Linked DNA regions of Homo sapiens: regions 1 and 3 are each linked to region 2. The links are contacts of gene promoters, found by promoter capture Hi-C in blood cells and fetal thymus (Javierre and others, 2016). All regions are on one chromosome and are shown on one strand. The core of a region is centred on a gene start or on the middle of the fragment in contact, and the rest is flanking DNA. Distances in the headings are between cores, read along the strand shown. Region 1 holds the start of SLC11A2 (solute carrier family 11 member 2). Region 2 holds the start of DIP2B (disco interacting protein 2 homolog B). Region 3 holds the start of LETMD1 (LETM1 domain containing 1).

What was found. The method cuts DNA at HindIII sites, captures the fragments that hold promoters and counts their contacts. A CHiCAGO score of 5 or more calls a contact.
Region 1: a contact is called between the fragment with the promoter of SLC11A2 here and the fragment with the promoter of DIP2B in region 2, in 2 of 17 cell types (fetal thymus and megakaryocytes). The highest score is 9.5, in fetal thymus.
Region 3: a contact is called between the fragment with the promoter of LETMD1 here and the fragment with the promoter of DIP2B in region 2, in 1 of 17 cell types (endothelial precursors). The highest score is 5.1, in endothelial precursors.

What each region holds. Positions count from the first base shown.
Region 1 is chr12:51,025,033-51,027,732 of GRCh38, forward strand. It overlaps SLC11A2 (solute carrier family 11 member 2), which reads right to left and starts at 1,352. Exons shown (of 16, transcript NM_000617.3): 1 at 1,278-1,352. RefSeq lists enhancers at 312-925, 926-1,537 and silencers at 943-1,002, 1,013-1,732. The HindIII fragment of the contact is 11,669 bases long and covers 1-2,700 here.
Region 2 is chr12:50,503,621-50,506,320 of GRCh38, forward strand. DIP2B (disco interacting protein 2 homolog B) reads left to right here and starts at 1,365. Exons shown (of 38, transcript NM_173602.3): 1 at 1,365-1,620. The coding sequence starts at 1,521. RefSeq lists a silencer at 1,668-1,777. The HindIII fragment of the contact is 3,121 bases long and covers 1-2,597 here.
Region 3 is chr12:51,046,878-51,049,577 of GRCh38, forward strand. LETMD1 (LETM1 domain containing 1) reads left to right here and starts at 1,450. Exons shown (of 9, transcript NM_015416.5): 1 at 1,450-1,601; 2 at 2,157-2,308. The coding sequence starts at 1,480. RefSeq lists enhancers at 725-844, 895-974, 1,065-1,334, 1,156-1,694, 1,445-1,494 and 1 more. The HindIII fragment of the contact is 4,204 bases long and covers 1-2,164 here.

The DNA of each region.
Region 1 (2,700 bases), core at 102-2,601, 520 kb after region 2:
ACAGGTATCACAATAAATGACCTAGTATAATGATAGTTTCCAACCGTATTTAATAAAACAAACACGCAGCAGAAATCCTCTAGTCACATATAACTACACTATACCCTCAGATCAAAGTTAATGATGTCAATGGAAAGTATAGGCCGGCGGGTTCACTGGTGATAAGTCATGAGACTCTGAGCAAAGAATAAGTAATAAGGTTAGAATTCTTTAGAAGTGTTAAGGGGAAAGAAGGTAACAACAACAAAAACTCCTCCACATCAAGAGTTCTAAGTACTTTGTTGTTTATTAACTAATTTCATACCAACAACCCTGTAAGACTGATATTATCAATCCCCATTTTAAGTACGTGGAACAAAAGAAGAAAGAGGCAAACAACATGCTCAAAGATTTACAAAGCCAAGAAATCATGCGAACTGGTGGGGCTTCGGGTTCCAGAAGTCAGTGTAAACATAGCTTCTCCATTTTTCACCAACAGTCACTAAAATTGAGGCCAGCAAGTTTTTAGAAGCCTATCTCCCCTTGCAAACTCTCCTTCCATATAATTTTTGCTTTTGCAAGAGATGTCACATTTAAGCGGTAGCTTTAAAAGTGGGGACACATGAAACGCACAGCTGGGAGAGCCATCCAGCCCACTTACATATGTGCAATATCCCCCTGTAGAAAAACCCTGCTCATTGGAGCCTGGAATCCAGAGGGTCCCTGAGAGCTACACAAACAGCCTTAAAACCAATCTACCCACAATTACTGAGCCGCGTATGCAGGCTATTCACACAGAAGGCGCTCCCTGAAGTCGGTTAGGTTATAATGAGTCTTTTGTTGAAGCGGGGCGGCGGGAGGCCCCGGAGAGCAGCCCGGCCCCCTGCGGCGCCGACGAAGAGGCCACGAAAGACCTTGCCCTGTGCCCGTCGGCCTCTTTCGAGGCGTCGAAGCAGGTCAGCGCACCCCGACACAGGCCGGGCGCGCCATCCGGTGCAGCTGGGAGCTGGGCCATGTGTCCTAGGCCGCGGCGGGGAAGGGGCGAGACCCCCGCGACCTCCGGCGTTCCCTCCCTGCCCCCATCTTTGGGTCTTTCTCTGAATGGCGCGACTCCATCAGTCCTGGACTCTGGGCCTGAGGCCCTCCCTGGCCACACCTCCCCTCACAGCCCCGCACGGCGAGCCGGTGTCGCATCCTAGCCCCGGAGCCTGACCCCCGACACAGGCCCTCGAGCCGCCCCGCGCCCCTCCCTGCCAGCGAGCGGAATGCCGTGACCCCTGACCTTGCCTTCCCCTCACCTTACCAGCTCCGCAACCACCTGACACGCCGCCCCCGCGCCCAGGGCTCCATATTCCGGGAGCCAGCGCCACGCTGGCTAACGCCCTCCCCTCCCCGCGATTGGTCGACAGGACGGCAGCCGCACATCCCTATTGGCTGGAGTCCCTGCAGCGGCCGGGATGCGTGGCCCGCAGACCAGGGACCTAGGCTCCGCCCACGCGGAGTCTGGATGCGGCGGCCCCTGGGGCACGCGGCGGCCCCTGGGGCACCCGGCGGGAGCTGCATGCTGCCTAGTTGCTGCTTGCGTTGGCCAGACCCACACAGCCCCTGGACTGGGGAGCTCCAGTCCGCTAGCAGTCTGGGGACAGATAAGATTCCTGCCCTAGTTCGCCGTGGCGCCACGTTAGGTACTGACAATCAAGCTACGAGGTATAGCTCTATCCTGTAAAGGGTAGCCAGGCCAGGCGCGGAGGCTCACACTTGTAATGCCCAGCACTTTGGGAGACCGAGGCGGGAGGATCACTTGAGTCCAGGAGTTCGATACCAGCCTGGGCAACATAGTGAGACCCGGTCTCTACAAAAAATTTTAAAATTAGCCAAGCAAAGGCCGGGCGCGGTGGCTCACGCCTGTACTCCCAGCACTTTGGAGGGCCCAGGCGGGCGAATCACCTGAGATCGGGAGTTTGAGACCAGCCTGACCAACATGGAGAAACCCCGTCTTTACTAAAAATACAAAATTAGCCGGGCGTGGTGGCGCATGCCTGTAATCCCAGCTACTCGGGAGGCTGAGGCAAGAGAATCGCTTGAACCCGGGAGGCGGAGGTGCAGTGAGCCGAGATCGCGCCATTGCACTCCAGCCTTGGAAACAAGAGCGAAAACTCCGTCTAAAAAAAAAAAAAAATTAGCCAGGCATCACGGCGCCCGCCTGTGGTCCCAGCTACTCGGGGGCTGAGGTGGGAGAATCACTTGGGCCTGGGAGGTGGAGGCTGCGGTGAGACAAGATCGTGCCACTGCACTCCAGCCTGGGTGGCAGAGCAAAACCCTGTCTCAAAAAAAAAGGATAGCCACCTGGAAGGAACATTTCCTCGCGCCCCCAGAGCCACATCATAGTATCTGCTGCCCCACCAAGAGCACCCCACACCTGGGAGGAACCGAGAAACATCAGCTAGTGCAGCCAGTTTGACCGCCTTAGGTGTCCTCCCAAGCCTCCGTAGTGAATTGTTTTCCTCCTCGCCCAGCTGACTCGATTCTCCCCAGACTTCATCCTACCTACCCAAAAGCAATCCCACTCTATCGCCAGTTTCAGCCTCACACCGTATCTTTTGCTCTGAAGATGAGACTGCCAAACTGGTGAAGAGGGAATAAATGGCCTAACAAATTACCGTAATTTTCTGCAATGTCGTTTACAGCCACCAAAAACATTAGATCCTCCCGCCACCCTCA
Region 2 (2,700 bases), core at 115-2,614:
CCTACCTCAGCTCCCCCAGGTAGCTGGGATTACAGGCATGTGCCACTACTCCCGGCTAATTTTTGTGTTTTTAGTAGAGACGGGGTTTCGCCATGTTGGCCAGGCTGGTCTCGAACTCTTGACCTCAGGTGATCCGCCCACCTTGGCCTCCCAAAGTGCTGGGATCATAGGTGTGAGCCACTGCACCTAGCCTTGGACCCTCTTCATATTAAATTAAAATTAATGTTTTTGGAACACCTATTAGGCCACAGAGTGAGGAGGATGAGTTAAAGTAAGTTCCCTCCTTGTAAGTAGTTAGAAGTATAGAAAGAAAGAAGTGGACCTGCTCTCTATTGTCTTTTTCTTTTCTTTAGACGGAGTGTTTGCTCTCTTGCCCGGGCTGGAGTGCAATGACGCGATCTCAGCTTACTGTAACCTCTGCCTCCTGGGTTCAAGTGATTCTCCTGCCTCAGCCTCTTGAGTAGCTAGGAGTACAGGCATCCGCCACCACGCCCGGCTAATTTTTGTATTTTTATTGGAGACGGGGTTTCACCATGTTGGCCAGGCTGGCCTAGTACTCTTTTTTTTTTTTTTTTGAGTCGGAGTCTCGCGCTCACGCTCAGGCTGGAGTGCAGTGGCGTGATCTTGGCTCACTGCAAGCTCCGCCTCCCGGGTTCACGCCATTCTCCTGCCTCAGCCTCCCGAGTAGCTGGGACTACAGGCGCCCGCCACCACGCCCGGCTAATTTTTTGTACTTTTAGTAGAGACGGGGTTTCACCGTGTCAGCCAGGATGGTCTCGATCTCCTGACTTCGTGATCCACCCGTCTCGGCCTCCCAAAGTGCTGGGATTACAGGCGTGAGCCACCGCGCCCGGTCGGCTAGCCTGGTACTCTTAACCTCAGGTGATCCACCAGCCTCAGCCTCCCAAAGTGCTAGGATTACAGGCGAGAGCCACCGCGCCTGTCTTTTTAAAAGCTAAAACTGAAACGGAAACAGAGCTCCTGGCAGATAGGACCAGGAGCCACAGCGAAGGAGGTGGCCTGTGATTAGGTTTTTATAAATGGGCAGGTATTAATCAGGGAAAATGGAGTAAAGGACACGATAGACATACATTGCTAAGTCTAGTATTGGAAAAAGTAAGGCCTGGGACCCCTAAAAACTTGCTCGAGAGTGAAAGGTAAATGCTATGTGTCCACACTACTGTGGTAAAGCCGACAGTCCATACCATGAGCCCATTTCGCGCAGGGAAATTCGAGTGGTGGGCTTGGGCCCGTCGTTCTGGTAGCTTCCCAGTAGAGGGCGCCGTAAGCATATGCGTCTTCAGCCTGACTGGGCTGGAGAGGCGGTGCGTCCTCCTGGCCGGGGGGCGGGGGCCGTCGCGCTCACGTGACCTTTGCTCATGGCGGCGGCGGCGGCGGCGGCGGTGCTGGTGGTGCTCGGCGGCCGGAGCCGGATCCTGTAGCCGGGTGTGGGCCCGTGTCTGTCCGTCCCTCCTTCGGCCCCCTCTCTTGTCTTCCGGAGTGTGGCTGGCGGAGCTGGGATGGCGGAACGAGGCCTGGAGCCGTCGCCGGCCGCGGTGGCGGCGCTGCCGCCTGAAGTGCGGGCGCAGCTGGCGGAGCTGGAGCTGGAGCTCTCGGAGGGTAGGAGCCGGGCCGGGGAGAGGGCGCCCGGGGCCCTGCGGATCGCGGCGACTTGGGAGACAGGTCCCCGCCGCGCGCTCTGGCGGCCGTGCGGCGAGGGGGACGAGGGTGTAGAGAACCTGGCCTGGCGCTCCACGACCGTTTTCCCTCCTCTCCCACCCCATTAAGTGGTTTCCTGTGGCTTTCATTGTTTTCCCATGGAGGGGACTAAGTAAGGGCTTGTGGAAAGGTCCTCCCGGGCCCACACTGCTTCTGCGCTTCCTGCCCCCCAAAACCCGAGACAAAGCTGCGCCCTCCCGCTTCTGCCCAGGCGTCTGGCCCAGGTGGGGTGAGGGGTAGGGCTGCGAGGAGGGTGGCTGACAGCTTTCTCCTTTCCTCTCCCCTTTTCGTGGAGGGCTCCACGCCTTGTTCCAGCCCCCCCTTCCCCCTTTCAAAAAGAGACACATGGGAAATCCGCAGCATCATTTCTTCTCTTTCCTTTAACAATGCGCGATGCCTCCCCAGTGACAGGAGTGAGACACAAGCGGGTGAGCCATTTAGGGTCCTAGGAAGATAAGAAGCAATGGCATTAACCCAGAGAGACACACGGTGCTGCTTTTAGACCACCTTTGTCATAAGAAGTTTTTTTTTTTCCTGGTGCCTGTTATTCGGGCCGAATTTTCCGCATCTGGTCACCTTTTGGAGTCTTTGATGAAGGAAGGAGAGGAGGCTACCGTTTACTTGCAAATCCTGGCTGGCATTCTTTCTTTTGACAATGGATTGGGACAGGGAGGGTTCGATTTATTTTCAGAATTAAAAAAAAAAAATGGGATAAATCAAGCCACTGTTATTAGAGAACTCCTTGTACAACAATGAGAGAAACACAGTGCTCCGTTGTGGGCATGTGATCAGGCTTCTGGGGCAGTTGTGATCAGTTCTGTGTAAAGTTCCTGTTTTTATCACTGGCTGCCCCTGAGACAAAAGCAGCATTTTCTCCAAGCTTGATACCAGTACTTTGATTGTGTCTCCAGAGTTGCATATTCTTACTGAGTTCCTTGTGGAAGGCCCTCTTCACTAGCATTTTTCAAGTGGATCAAAAAC
Region 3 (2,700 bases), core at 200-2,699, 540 kb after region 2:
TGGATCCTCAAAGATTTCTTATAAAGTAGGTACTATTATAAGGGAAATAAACTCAGAGCTAAAGTGACATATCCAAGGTAACATTCACTAAAACAAACGTCAATGCCAAGATTGAACCTATATCCAGGGAACCCACATGGGATGCTCTACCACCTTCCATGAAGAATAAATATTCATATATATCCAAGAGGACTGTTAATTCTTGGAGGCAGTTAAGTACCACTTCTGGGAATCCTTCTTAGTTTCAAGTATGAATCTATTCAAACATGTTTACTGAACACCTACTATGTGCTAAGTAAGGCACCTAGTGTTGGAGGTGCAGCAATGAACAAGGCAGAGAAGATGCTTACCCTCATTCTAGTTCAGGGAGCTGTCAAACAAGGACACAAATACATAAACACTGTAAGTGACAGATGCTACAAAGAAAATACAAGGCCGGGTGCAGTGGCTCACGCCTGTAATCCCAGCACTTTGGGAGGCCAAGGCTGGCGGATCACTTGAGGCCAGGAGTTGAAGACCAGCCTGACCAACATAGTGAGATCCCGTCTCTACTAAAAATACAAAAATTAGCCGGGCGTGGTGGCGGACGCCTGTAATCCCAGATACTCGGGAGGCTGAGGCAGGAGAATCGCTTGAACCCGGGAGGCGGAGGCTGCAGTGAGCCAAGATCGCGCCACTGCACTCCAGCCGGGGCGACAGAGCAAAACTGTCACAAAAACAAAACAACAAAACAAAACAAAACAGAGTAACATGAGAATAAGTGTGAAGTGTGTCCTTTTCGCCGGCACTGCTTCAGATAGGGTGGTCACAGAAATCCTCTCAGAATAGTAACATTTAAGTTGAGACAGAGCTTGGTCTTCGGTAGGTGCTTAACGAAAACCATTTTCCCACAAACTTAGTTCTGGAAACGACAAAGAGAGGAAAAAGTGTACTCAGTCCGCACAGGGGCCGCTCCCAGGCCTCCAACCTTCGCCGCCAGACTGACTGGAAAGTGGACAGTTCCCGGCCTATCCACGCCGGCACCATTAGAGGGCGCCGCGGGTCCTCCTAGCCCCAGGCACTGGCAAACTGACATCTGCTACCTAACAGTCGAGGCTCCGACGCCCCGAGTCCAGGCAGAGGGCAAGGGCGGCGCTGGGAAGCCCTGAGGCCCTAAGGAATCGCGGAGGGTCACTGGGCGCCTCAAGGACAGGGTGCCCTCCGCGTCGCAAACCCACACCAGTGGCATAAGAACTCGCTCCCTCTGGGACACCCTGTTTCCGGCGCCTTTAAACCTGGAAGTACTGCTGTGTCCAATCCTGGCCCTCCTTCCGCACTTAGTCTTTGAGTCCTTCCCTCTCCTGGCTTGTGCTGGAGCCAAGCAGGCTATGGCTACCAATCAGCGCTCAGAAAAGACGCATGCGTCTTCGAACGAACGCGACGTACGGTTAACTTTGACCCAAAGACAACCTCTTCTCTCCCGCTTCTCTCGCTGTGAAGATGGCGCTCTCCAGGGTGTGCTGGGCTCGGTCGGCTGTGTGGGGCTCGGCAGTCACCCCTGGACATTTTGTCACCCGGAGGCTGCAACTTGGTCGCTCTGGCCTGGCTTGGGGGGCCCCTCGGTGAGGGACCTGTAGCGAGAAAAGCATTTTTGACGTCCAGGCTCTTTCAGTGTCTCAACCTTGCTTGCATTCTGTCTCTTAATTCTCAGAGTTCCACGCCTTGGCCCTGGAATTTTTATTCTTCTGTTCAGGATTCAAACTCCGATCCCCACTAGTGACCCGGCTTCCTGACCCTCTGTACTCTCAGTGCCCCATATTGTCTGGTTTCCCCGCGTGTCCTGAGCTCATCTTTCAGCCTCACTTTTTCGGCTCAGGTTTTACCGCTGCTATCTCGATTCCACCTCTTTCTGACTTAGCCTGCAGTTCAAATTGTCCCACAGGCATTGCGCTCTCTCCAGAGGCATACCCTGAGTTACTTTCCTGCCTGGCCTTTGCCTGATTTGTGTTTCACAGTCTGATTGCCTATCTCTTCTTGACCCCAAGACCTTCCTTGGATTTCAGAAGTGTCAAGCCTTGGGATACAATCTCCGAGACTCCTGCTTTACATTAGGGACTCAAGGCGTGAGGGAGCTTCTAGGACTGATTCCCAGATAGTCTCTTTGATCTTCCTTGTAGGTCTTCAAAGCTTCACCTTTCTCCAAAGGCAGATGTGAAGAACTTGATGTCTTATGTGGTAACCAAGACAAAAGCGATTAATGGGAAATACCATCGTTTCTTGGGTCGTCATTTCCCCCGCTTCTATGTCCTGTACACAATCTTCATGAAAGGTAAAAACGAAACTACAATAGAAATTCCGGAATCAGCTCTTGGGCAGGGTCAAAGAGTTAGCATAAATAAGATCATTTGCAGGTTCTGCTATGGGGATGTGAGCCGAGATATCTTATATTTCATAAATGCCTGCGCCTTAAACTAATTCCTATAAATTAGCACTTCTTGAGAATGTTTCTAGAAAGATGTTATGAGAAACAACTTATGACAGCAACATGAGGGAGGGAGAATATAGGTATGTTCTCGTACTTTCTTAACCACACACCTGGCTATAGTAGAAATTTTTTGCCTTGCACACGGCAGGGATCTGTGGCTGTATAGACCTGCCCTGTGATGTATCAGTTGACTTACCCATAGGAAAATGAGGTCTAACCCTTGTTATGAATCTATA